Regions from separate parts of the Homo sapiens genome. Here region 1 is linked to region 2. The links are contacts of gene promoters, found by promoter capture Hi-C in blood cells and fetal thymus (Javierre and others, 2016). All regions are on one chromosome and are shown on one strand. The core of a region is centred on a gene start or on the middle of the fragment in contact, and the rest is flanking DNA. Distances in the headings are between cores, read along the strand shown.

The links. Contacts are between HindIII fragments. The CHiCAGO score rates a contact against its expected background, and 5 or more counts as called.
Region 1: a contact is called between a fragment that was not itself captured here and the fragment with the promoter of KRT27 in region 2, in 1 of 17 cell types (monocytes). The highest score is 5.9, in monocytes.

What each region holds. Positions count from the first base shown.
Region 1 is chr17:41,598,863-41,605,110 of GRCh38, reverse strand. No RefSeq gene overlaps it. Among named protein-coding and RNA genes, the nearest start is that of KRT16, 11 kb to the left of the region's middle. The HindIII fragment of the contact is 9,356 bases long and covers 1-6,248 here.
Region 2 is chr17:40,780,237-40,786,798 of GRCh38, reverse strand. KRT27 (keratin 27) reads left to right here and starts at 4,249. Exons shown (of 8, transcript NM_181537.4): 1 at 4,249-4,749; 2 at 5,529-5,611; 3 at 6,343-6,499. The coding sequence starts at 4,306. The HindIII fragment of the contact is 4,282 bases long and covers 1,980-6,261 here.

The DNA of each region.
Region 1 (6,248 bases), core at 1,564-4,063, 820 kb before region 2:
TAGTGTTTAGGAGGTGAAGATAAACTGCAAGTTTAACCTGAGTTTAATCTGAAGTCTCTGCTTTACATGACAAAACCATATTCATCTTTCAAGGCTGCTGAGCCTGATTCATTACTCTATAATGCACAATCATTGTTGGCATTATTGGTAGTTTAGCGAATGTGTTTCCCTTTTTCTGGTCACCCTGTCTCCCAAGCCCTAGGGTGAGCCTATGACTCAGAGCGAACCCCAAATCTCGATACCAAAGGTAACCACTGATAGTATTTTTACAAGTTTTTCTCTCTGTCTCTCTATATATACACTCATGCACCATATAACAACATGTTGTTTTTCAGTGATGGATGGTATATATATATATATATATATATATATATATATATATATACACACACATACACACGAGTGGTCCCATAAGATTATAATACTACATTTTTACTGTACTTTTTCTGTGTTTAGATAGGTTTAGATACACAAATACCAACCACTGAGTTACAATTGCCTATAGTATTCAGCACAGTAACCTGCTGTTCAAGTTTATAGCCTAGGAGCAATAGGCTATACCATCTAGCCTTGGTATGAAGTAGGTTATACCATGTAGGTCTTTGTAAGTACACTGTATGGTGTTCACACAATGACAAAATTATTTAATAATGCATTTCTCAGAATGCGTTCCTGTTGTAAAGTAATCCGTGACTGTGTACATATATATACACATTTATACATATATACATTTATGCATATATGTATAAATAAAATACATTTATGCATATATATTTATGTACTTATACATATATATGTATAAATGAAGTAAAAATGAAGTAAACATATCTTACCAACTATAATTACAACAACAATTACACTAAATGTCTATACCATTTTTCATTCTTTTTTTTTTTTTTTTGAGACAGAGTCTCACTGTGTCGCCCAGGCTGGATAGTGCAATGTCATGATCTTGGCTCACTGCAACCTCTGCTGCCCGAGTTCAAGCGATTCTCCTGCCTCAGCTCCCACAAATATTTTTGATTATTTCCTTAGGCTAGATTCCTAGATGTATACTAGATGAGAAGATACAGATGTTTTAAGATTCTCGATTTGAATGGCCAAATTGATTTAAAGAGAAATTGTGCCAATTTGCATATCTTGCCAGCAGGGAATGGGAGTGCCTATTTCAAAACATGCTCATCAACTGTGAGTATTATCTTTAAAAACCTCTTTGGTAAATTGATTCAGCTGATTCTTTTAAAGATGATGTTGTGGAAGGACCCTTACACAGAGACATAGTCCTGGCCTGGGTTACTAAACAACTCCTGGGCTGGCACACACTTTCATGAGTTGTTCATTAATGAGATGTCAGAACAGAGGATGTAGAATACCCTCCAACTGGGCATGCGGTGCTATTTTATTTTATTTTATTTATTTATTTATTTATTTTTTGAGACAAAGTCTCACTGTCACCCAGGCTGGAATGCAATGGTGCGATCTCAGCTCACTGCAACCTTTGTTTCCCAGGTTCAAGCAATTCTCATACCTCAGCCTCCTGAGTAGCTGGGACTACAGGTGTGTGCCACCACACTCAGCTAATTTTTTTTTTTTTTTTTTGTATTTTTAGTAGAGACAGGATTTCACCATGTTGGCCAGACTAGTCTCAAACTCCTGGCCTCAAGTGATCTGCCTGCCTTGGCCTCCCAGAGTGCTGGGATTACAGGCGTAAGCCACCATGCCCAGCCTGGGCATGGGTGCTATTTTAAAGAAGTTGTCTGTACCCGTATCTTCCGAGTGCCTAACCCCCAGGAGCAGATCCTTGGAAAGCTCATCACGAAAGGCCTCTACCTGACAGATGCAGAAATTCAGGTTTACAGTAGTTAAAGGAAAATTAAAAAAAAAACTTTCTTGGGGTCTCACAGTCACTTAGCAAAACTCCCGGAGAGCAGAAATCACTTATCTCTTCTTCATTGCTGTTATCTTGTAGAAACAAATCATGAGCCCCTTTTAAACAGAAGGACAATATTGTGCAGAAATATGAGTTTTCCCTTCAATAAGGGAACCAGAATTTCCATCTGGAAATGGCTTGCTGCCTGGATTTCTCAAACTATGATTCAAGCCCCAAATCAGACTGCCTTTTGCTCTTGCCTGGTCTTTCCCACTTCCTAAGATCCTGGCACCTGAGCTGAGAAGGTTGAGAACTCCCAGTGTTCCTTGAAATCTGTCTAATTTGAAGGTACCTTCAGATTCCTTATGCTTGACTTACTGTCAAAGTTCGGCAAATATTGTTTTAGATAATTGCATGAGGTGCAAAAACAATGACTAGAGTGAGAATTAATGGCAGCCCATAAAGTGCATCTGCTGTTGTAAATGAATGAGTGGTATGCTTGTAAAGCTCTGCTTTCTTTGGGTCCATTGTTTCTGAGAGCTCTAATAAGCTCAGTGTCCCTCCTAGTGTATGAGATAAGCAATTTCTTGTGCTTGTCTTTTCACTGCTGTAGCTTGTTGTTTAAGACCTTCTGTCTGCTCCCCGAAACATAAACAGTAATGAAACTTTTGTTTTGCTAGTTACCAACAGCCCCTGGATGGTACCCAGCCCATAAAGGACACTCAGTAAAGACTTGTGGAGTCAGGCCGTGGAGGTTTGGTTTAGAAGTCTCTGCTCTTTCAGGACTCCACAGAACTTGCTCAGAAGAATTTCTTGAGGGCAGGCTTCTCTGGGTTCCATGTGCTTCTCATTGTGTTGGCACAGGGAGGTCTCCATGGGTAGGTATTGACAAGCTGGCATGGATGTGAAAGCAAATATCTTCTTGAGCCCTGGAGGGATGGAGCCCCATCTACAGAACTGAGGCATGAGGCAGTGGAGCTCCTTATCTGGCCCCTCCTCTGATGTGCTGTCTGCATCCTGGAATCCCCAACAGTCCAAGACCCCCGAAGGGCTTTGAGCAGATCAAGGGGTGTTAAAGCAATAGTGGCAGCTATCCAGGAGACGCCATTTCTGACTTCACCCCTAGTTAACACACTGTTGATTGCAAGGGTCCCTCTTTCTCCTACCATGTTAGGATTGTTACACATAAAACTCATGCGTCGGCCTGGTGCTGTGGCTCACGCCTGTAATCCCAGCACTTTGGGAGGCCTAGGAGGGAGGATCACCTCAGGTCAGGTGTTTGAGAGCAGTCTGGCCAACATGGTGAAACTCCATCTCTACCAAAAAATACAAAAATTAGACAGGCGTGGTGGTGCGTGCCCATAGCCCCACTACTTGGGAGGCTGAGGTGGGAGAATCGCTTGAATCAAGGAGGTGGAGGTTGCAGTGAGCCGAGAGTGTGCCACTGCACTCTAGCCTGGGTGACAGAGTGAGACCCTGTCTCAAACAACAACAACAAAAAACAACAGAAAAAATCCCATACGTCTCTAGCTTTTATCTACCATATGAATAGTGTGACGAAACAAAAGGAAATATAGAAAATGAAAACACTCATCCATTGTTCTGTCACCAGACCTTTTATTCTACCAGGTTCTTTTCCAGCTTTGTTATATGTGATTATACAGCAAAGATGACTTTCAAATTATTTAAGGGACTTCACTTAATTTTAAATTAATAGAAATAACAGACCAGTATAAAAAGGCATATGTGCAAAGATATTTACTGCTGTTTATTTGTAGTGACAGAAGGTGGCAAACACATTTTTAAAAGTTGATAGTGGACAGGTGGAATAAATAATGGTCCACTGCTACCCTGGAGTATTAAGCAGCCATTATAGTCAATAAATTGGAGCTATTTATTGGATGGCAAGGAGGGATTCCTCCAGGGATTGGAGAGAGAGAAATGTGGAATGCAGAAATGTACATGTAGGATATTGATTTCACTTATGTGAAATAAACAGCCAACCCCTCATCCCTCATTTATGTAAATGCATGTGCATGTGTCTGTGAGATTATATAAGCACCAACAATATGAAAAGATACATACAGAGTTATGAACATAGATTACTGTGGGGGTGGGGTTGAAGGCTGATGTGGGTGGCAGTGGTTGAGGGGAAAAGGGGAGCCAAGAAAAACAGGAAAGGAACAAAAAGAGTGCACACACATTTTAATACATGTGCATAAAATTGTGTGTGTGTGTGTATATGAATAAAGAAACTAAACAACAATTTAAGAACCAAAGAATCAATTAATTTGTTGAATACCACATCGACTTCCTAATTAGAAACAGATTGCATGCACTAATATTCTGGCCTGTCAATTTTATGTGATCATAAAATAGATTTTTAATTTACTTTATGCTTAGATAATAATATAACTATACAAATTAAAACTGATAACCAAGAGAAAACATTTTTTAAAAAGATCAGATCACAGTCCTTTGCAGGAGGTAGTGTCGAATAGCTGGGGGGAGGGCAGAGGCTAACCTGAAGCTGAACTTCCAGCGTGAACTTGGAGGGATCCTCCACCCGCCCCTGGTCTCTGTGAGTTTCATTTTCCTCATCCGTACATTTAGGGTATTAGTATTTATCTGAAGGAGTTCATTTGAGGAATAGAGGAGATAAAGGGTGGATAAAACACACAGTATGTACCCAATAAACATTTTTTGTTGCTTCCCTCTCCTGTTTGACAATTTTTAATGTTGCCCAACCCTTTATTGCCTGATTTGATTCTGGCAGCAAGGCTGCAGACAGGCAGCTGTGTTCTGCTTCCTAAAGATGAGCTGGAGCAAATGCCTTCTCCCTGCATGCTCCCTGCAAGGCCTCCTCGCTATCTCCACACACCTGACTCATCCCATTTTACAGGTGAGGAAATTGAGGCTCAGGGAGGCTGAGCGACTTACTCAAGGGTGCGTGACCAGTAGGTGGGGTGTCAGAATGCCCTGCACCCCCAACCCTGTGCCGCCTCTGCATAGATCTTCCCTGGTGAGAAGATCCCTGGTCTTGTTTGACTTGATCAGGCTTGCAGAGAAGGTGGGTGCTAGCAGTAGGCCAGTGAATTCAGTCCAAGTCCACTTAGAGGCTGTTCTGGGCCAGGTGTTGTGCTGGGTTTGGGGTGGGGGCAGGGTGGGGATTCAGTGATAAGTCAGGAGCCACCTTGGCCTTAAATAAGATACTTATTTACAGCACCTACACAGGCAATGGTGCTTTTTGTCCTCCTTCCCCTAGAGGTGCCTTTGATGTGTGAGGGGATGGGCAGTACCCCTACTGGCTGAGCTCTTTCTCAATAGCTGGGCCTTGGCTGACGCTTCCTCTCTCTCTCCTCCTCTTCTAGGTAAGTGGGTGGGGACTGGGCTGTGGACCTACAGAGGCTTAAACAGTGGCTGGTGTTTGCCCTATCTGCCCACATGGCCACAAGAATTGCAGCCTTAGTGAGTTCTCTACAGTGAGAATAACCACCCCCCACCCACCCCCAGGAGCAGATCTGCCTGGGCTTGAACCCCAGCCCCACTCCCTACCTGCCTTAGTGTTGCTCTGAGGATTAGAAGACATGATGAAGTTAAGACCTGGCCCCTGGTAAGTCCTCAATACATGTTAACTTTGGTGGAATGAGACTGTAAGAGGGTATGTTTTACCCCTAAGCTAGCTCAAGGTGATGACTGCTTAAACTGGTTCTGTTCTGTTCTACAGAACAAGAGACTTGACTCAGGGGTTTCATTGTCATACTTACCTTCTCTAACACCACCAGCACCACCATCACCACCCTCATCATCACCACTCCCACCACCATGACCACCACCACCATCACCACCATAATCATCACTATCATTACCACCACCACCACTACCAATATCCCCCCACCACCATCACCACCAACATTATCACTACCACTATCACCATCACAACCACCAACACCCCCACCACCACCATTACCACCCCCACCACCACCATTACCACCCCCACCATCACTATAATCACCACCATCACAATTATCACTACCACCATCACTACCATCACCACCACCATTACCACTACCATCACCACCATAATCACTGCCATTATTACCACCATCACCACCACCACCATCATCATCACCACCATTACCACTACCACCATCACTACCATTGCCACTACAATCACCAACACCACCACCAATACCATAATTACCATAATTACCACCATCACCACCACCACCACCACCACCATTATCCCTACCATCACCACCACAACCACTAGCACCACACCAATACCCCCACCACCATTACCCCCACCATTAACACTACCACCATCCCTACCATCACCACCATAATCACCACCACCACCACCAATACCATAATTACC
Region 2 (6,562 bases), core at 3,000-5,499:
TTAGTAGAGACGGGGTTTCACCATGTTGGCCAGGCTGGTCTTGAACTCCTGATCTCAAGTGATCCACCTCCCTCGGCCTCCCAGAGTGCTGGGATTACAGGCGTGAGCCACTGCGCCTGGCCTGGGTTCGTATTTTGAAAGCATTCTTCACTAGAATGATGGCTTTCCTAAAATTGAATATGTGTTGGTTTTGCTCCTGACATTTTAAGTGTTTGTTTGTCGCCCCCGCCCCCAGCCATGGTTCTCTGAAAGATCCTGTGGATGTGCCTCACTGTGGATGTTTTTCATTTATCATTCATGGTTCTTGGTGGTCTCTTTGAATTTAGAAGCTCAGTTGTTTAGTTCTGAGTAGTATTTCAGAAAATATGTTTATAAAATAATTTCTTCATGATTTCTCCCTTCTCTCTTTCCAGAAGACCTACTTGATGTTGTTCTTCTTTGACCAAGTCTCTCATTTTCTTTTTCTTTTTTTTTTTTTTTTTTTTTTTTTTTTTTTTTCTGAGATGGAGTGTTACTCTGTCGCCCAGGCTGGGGTGCAGTGGCGCGATCTCGGCTCACTGCAAGCTCCGCCTCCCGGGTTCACGCCATTCTCCTACCTCAGCCGCTGGAACTACAGGCGCCCGCCACCACCGCCGGCTAATATTTTTGTATTTTTAGTAGAGACAGGGTTTCACCGTGTTAGCCAGGATGGTCTCGATCTCCTGACCTCGTGATCCGCCCACCTCGGCCTCCCAAAGTGCTGGGATTACAGGAGTGAGCCACCGCGCCCGGCCCAAGTCTCTCATTTTCTAATATTTTCTTTTATCTGTAAACAAGTTCTCTGAGAAGGAAATTCAAGGACAGAGACTTCATTCCAGCAAACAGCTAGCAAGCTGGTGAGACACAGCCTTTGGTGTAAAATGAAAATGTGTTCCAGAGAACAAAGGAAGGGAATTTGTCTTTTAGAGAAAGTTCCCACCCAGGTTCCCACTTAGGTCTGCTTATGCAAAATGCAGGATTGAAATTTACTTAGTTCTGGTTGGTTGATGTTTGCTTAGTTAGCTCTTATTAGTCAGGGCATGCAGACTTCTGATTGATCCATGTAGGTTACAGCCTATTGTTTGGTTCAGGTGGCATAAACTGGAAGCTATGAAAGTCCCAAAGTTAAGCAGATGTGCACATTTTCTGGGAACTCAGAGTAAATATGTGACCTGTAGTCAGCAAATGGTTGCTTGGTTTTAATTTGAATTTAGGCCCAGTTAGCTGCTCAGGACTCATCTTAAGAGGCTGGTTCTTTACGCCAGGCACGGTGGCTCACACCTGTAATCCCAGCACTTTGGGAGGCCGAGGCTGGCGGATCTCTTGAGGTCAGGCATTCGAGACCAATCTGGCCAACATGGTGAAACCCCATCTCTGCTAAAAATACAAAAATTAGCCAGGCATGGTGGCATGTGCTTGTAATCCCAGCTACTTGGGAGGCTGAGGCAGGAGAATTACCTGAACCTGGGAGGTGGAGGTTGCAGTGAGCCAAGATCGCGCCAGTGCACTCGAGCCTGGGTGACAGAGCAAGACTCAGTCTCAAAAAAAAAAACAGAGAGAGAGAGAGACTGGCTCTTTCAAGGCTCACATATTTATCTTTTCATCTTTTTGTTCTAATTTTGGGGAGTTTTTTTTTAAATTTATTTTCCAATTCATCTATTGAAGTTTTCTTTTGGGACTTAGTTTTTAATTCTAAGAGGTCTTTTATGTGCTTCCTGTTCAATTTTAATGATGTTCTATCCATGTTTTAAATATACAGTATTTTTGTTACTTCTGAAAGTAATAATTATAGGTAGTTTCTTTTTTAAAGTTTTCTTCAACGTTCTTCATTATCTCTGTTTCCCCTGAGTGCTATTTTTTGTTTGTTTGAGTCTCTGTCTTTCTTGTTGGAGTGTTTTTCAATGTATCGTGATATTTTAAATTATGTTCGTTTTGAGTAAGACCTTAAACATTTGAAAGCTTTGTGTGAAGTGTCTGTGTTTCCTTCCAGAGTGGTTGTACAGTGAGCTCCCTTTTTGTGGAGAACACTCAAACAATTCTATCTGGAGGTATTTTCTCTGAGATTCTTCAGCTTCCTCAGAGAGACCCAACAATTCGGGCTGGCTACATAATTTACAAGGCCCAGTGCAAAATGAAAATGTGAGGTCTCCTGTTGAAAAGTCAGAAAAAAAGTTCAGTTAGAAATATTAAAATAGGTCCAGCGCGGTGGCTCAAGTCTATAATCCCAACACTTTGGGAGACCAAGGTGGGTGGTCTGAGGTCAGGAGTTTGAGACCAGCCTGGCCAACATGGTGAAACCCCGTCTTTACTAAAAATACAAAAATTAGCCGGGCATGGTGGCAGGCACCTGTAATCCCACCTACTTGGGAGGCTGAGGCAGGAGAATCACTTGAACTCGGGAGGCAGAGGTTGCAGTGAGCCGAGATGGCACCACTGCACTCCAGCCTGGGCGACAGAGCGAGACTCCATCTCAAAAAAAAAAAAAAAGAAATAGTAAAATATAAATCTTTTTCTTCTAAAAAGTCTTATTATTTATAACATGTAATGAGGTAACGGGTACACATATATAACAGCATAAACTACAAACAGCAAAGAAATAATGTTTTGGTGTCCTAATTTTATGTAAAACAATAAACCATAATACTTTAATAATGTATTAAATTGATTGACAAATCTTTCTGGCTTTTTTTCCGCAAGCTCATTTATTAAGTCATGAAAATTTATATTTTTGCCAACTTCATTTTCAATCTAGGTAATTGAAAGTGATGTCAATCATTCTTGGCAAATGCAAGATCTCAAATGATTTGTTATAATTTTTAGTCTGAAGAAGAAAACCAGGTGGAAAGAATAACATGAACAAAGGCAAAGAGATGGGAAAGAGGGAAGTAGTAAAACAGAACGGACAAGTCAGTGCGGGAAAATTTACATTAAGACAGTGAGGTGGCTCCTGCCTATAATCCCAGCACTTTGGGAGGCCAAGGTGGGAGGATCTGTCGAGCCCAGGCATTCAAGACCAGCCTGGACAACATGGCAAACCCCAACTCTACAAAAAAATACACAGATTAGCCAGGCATAGTGGCGTGTGCCTGTAGTCCCAGATATTTGGTAGGCTGAGGTGGGAGGATCACTTGAGCCTGGGAGGTTGAGGCTGCAGTGAGCTGTGATCATGTCACTGCACTCTGGCCTGGGTGACAAAACGAGACCCTGTCAAAAAAAAAAAAAAAAGAGAGAGAGTCGTAAATACCAAGCACAAAACTATAAGAAATGACAAAGGTAGGGCACAGGAGCTATAAGTGGAAGAGAAAAGGGGAGCAACATGAGATGTAGAAAATTTCTTAGAAAGCAACTGTCTGAAACTCGATCAGACTCATCAGACTGAGGTTGTCAGTATTGAATGTAACCAAGAGGGTATAGGGGAAAAAATAAAAGAAATGATGATTAGAGATGTGCAGTGATGTCTGAGAGGTTAATTTCAGTAAAATAGTGGGACCACAATTCAGAAATAAGAGGTGAAAAGTACAAGAAGCAATGCAGAAAAGTGCTATGGAAATGGACAGCCAATAGAAGGAATGCAGAAATATGAGCAATCTACAGACAGAAAGTGAATATAGAGACCACAGTCTAGACCCTTCACTTTACAGATGTGGAAACTGAGGCCCGAGGAGGTGACCAATTCCTTTACTTAACCTGGTTAGCAATGGAACTTAGACAGAAAACCAGTACAGATGAAATGGTAATTCAGGAAGGATAAGGATCAAAGGAACACTTTCTGTCTCCAAAGAAGATTCCCTTTAATGCCTCAGTTTTCCTTTAGGACCTCCCCTCCTTCTTCTGATACTATGATACTTCATTGCTGAAGAAAATGCAATGCTGATTTGAGCAAGGGAAAGAGAAATCTGTCTATCATACTTTTTTATTCTTATAGGTATTATGCATTCCTGAAGCCTGGAAGACAGGAAGAGTTACTCATACTAAATTTGAAATGCATCACTATAATAATCCTGATAATACTCCACCCTGTCCAACTCCAGAGATAACAAATAACCCCACAATAACTATCCACCTACAGAAATGGACACAGTATGGTAAAGCCATTCATTAAAAAAAAAAAAAAATCACCCCATTATGGATAATTCACAATGAGCTGGCAAACATCATTTGGCTATGAGCAAAGCTCATCAAGAAACACCCTAATAATGTGTATATAAAGGCAAACCAAGCTGTTTGAGTAGGCCGTTCACCATCAGAGCATCACCGCAGAAACAAAGGCTCCAGCCTCCGGACACCATGTCTGTGCGCTTTTCTTCTACCTCCAGGAGACTTGGCTCTTGCGGGGGCACTGGCTCTGTGAGGCTCTCTAGTGGGGGAGCAGGCTTTGGGGCTGGAAACACATGCGGTGTGCCAGGCATTGGAAGTGGCTTCTCTTGTGCTTTTGGGGGCAGCTCATCTGCAGGAGGCTATGGCGGAGGTCTGGGCGGGGGAAGTGCTTCCTGTGCTGCCTTCACAGGGAATGAGCACGGCCTCCTCTCTGGCAATGAGAAGGTGACCATGCAGAACCTCAACGACCGCTTGGCCTCCTACCTGGAGAATGTTCGAGCCCTAGAGGAGGCCAACGCTGACTTGGAGCAGAAGATCAAGGGGTGGTATGAGAAATTTGGACCTGGTTCTTGCCGTGGCCTTGATCATGATTACAGCAGATATTTCCCAATTATTGACGAACTTAAGAACCAGGTAAGAAACGCCATGGCGTGAGTGTTAGCACTCCTGAGAGTGTTTAGCCACTCACAGATGCACAAATGTATAAGCTATCACAATAACAGGGCTTTGCCCTCAGCTTCTAAATTTTAGGAGTTCATTTTCAATATTAAAAATAATTTCTAATAAATTCTAATATTTGAACATGGCACGTCCATCATGTAGTATTAGGTATATGCTTTTGGTAATATTAAAATATCAAAAGCTGTCCAGTGTCTCCAGTTATATATTTATAGGCTTTCCCATAGAAAGAGCTTTTTTTAATGCTTGGGGTGGGAAATACAAGAGACCATACCCAGCCAGGCACAGTGGTTCAGCCTGTAATCCCAGCACTTTGGGAGGCCAAGGCAGGTGGATCACTTGAGATTAGGGGTTCAAGACCAGCCTGGCCAACATGGTGAAACCCTGTTTCTACTAAAACTACAAAAGTTAGCCGAGCGTGGTGGCACATGCCTGTAATCCCAGCTACTTGGGAGGCTGAGGCAGGAGAATCACTTGAATCTGGGAGGTGGAGGTTGCAGTGAGCCAAGATCGTGCCACTGCACTCCAGCCTGGGCAACAGAGCGAGACTCGGTCTCAAAATAAAAGACAGAGAGAGAGACCATACTTAAATTACCCATCTTCAAAAGAATGGTCTGATTATTAGAGACAGATGCCAGAAATATTACTATAATTTCATGGGTAATTTTATTTCAAGGAACTTTGAAATGCATCTTAAATATTTCCTCAATCTTAACTAACTTTTCATTTGTCAGATAATTTCTGCAACTACCAGTAATGCCCATGTTGTCCTGCAAAATGATAATGCAAGACTAACAGCTGATGACTTCAGACTAAAGTAAGTAGAGCTGAAGATAAATGGGAAAAAAAAGTTGTCTAAGCATTTTTTCTCCTTTATTCTTCTAAGTTATTTGACGTTGTCTCAAGCCTTTGTTCTTGTTTATTCATGTATTTGTTTTAAACAAAATGCCTGTTAGAATGAGTAACTAGCTGAGCAACAAATTTTACTTGGGAAATTTCGGGACTAACAAAAACGAGTGTCAAAGTCATATGAGAAAGAATTTTGGCTATTCCCATTCTCTTGCTTCAATGAAATGTATTTATTGCATGATAGATGACCTAACTGAAATGTGTTTTTTTAATTAATTAATTTATTTATTTATTTATTTATTTTTTGGAGACGGAGTCTCGCTCTGTCGCCCAGGCTGGAGTGCAGTGGCGCAATCTCGGCTCACTGCAAGCTCCGCCTCCTAGGTTCACGCCATTCTCCCGCCTCAGCCTCCCGAGTAGCTGGGACTACAGGCGCCCACCACTGCGCCCGGCTAATTTTTTGTATTTTTTAATAGAGACGGGGTTTCACCGTGATCTCGATCTCCTGACCTCGTGATCCGCCCGCCTCTGCCTCCCAAAGTGCTGGGATTACAGGCGTGAGCCACCGCGCCCGGCCTGAAGTTTTAAGTATTATCTTAGTAGTTTTACCTCAAAGCTTAGTCTGAGTTGTATGATGATCTAAAAAGTGATGTGCCATGTCTAATGACTAATGATGAAACTTCCAAATACTTTTCTAAGGTTTGAAAACGAGCTAGCGCTTCACCAGAGCGTGGAGGCGGACATCAATGGTTTGCGAAGAGTCCTGGATGAGCTGACCTTGTGCAGAACGGACCTGGAGATCCAGCTGGAAACTCTCAGTGAGGAGCTCGCTTACCTCAAGAAGAATCATGAGGAGGTAGAAGCTCCACCCGGCTGGCTCTCACAATCGCCTCCCTACCAAATTTTAAAACTAATTTCA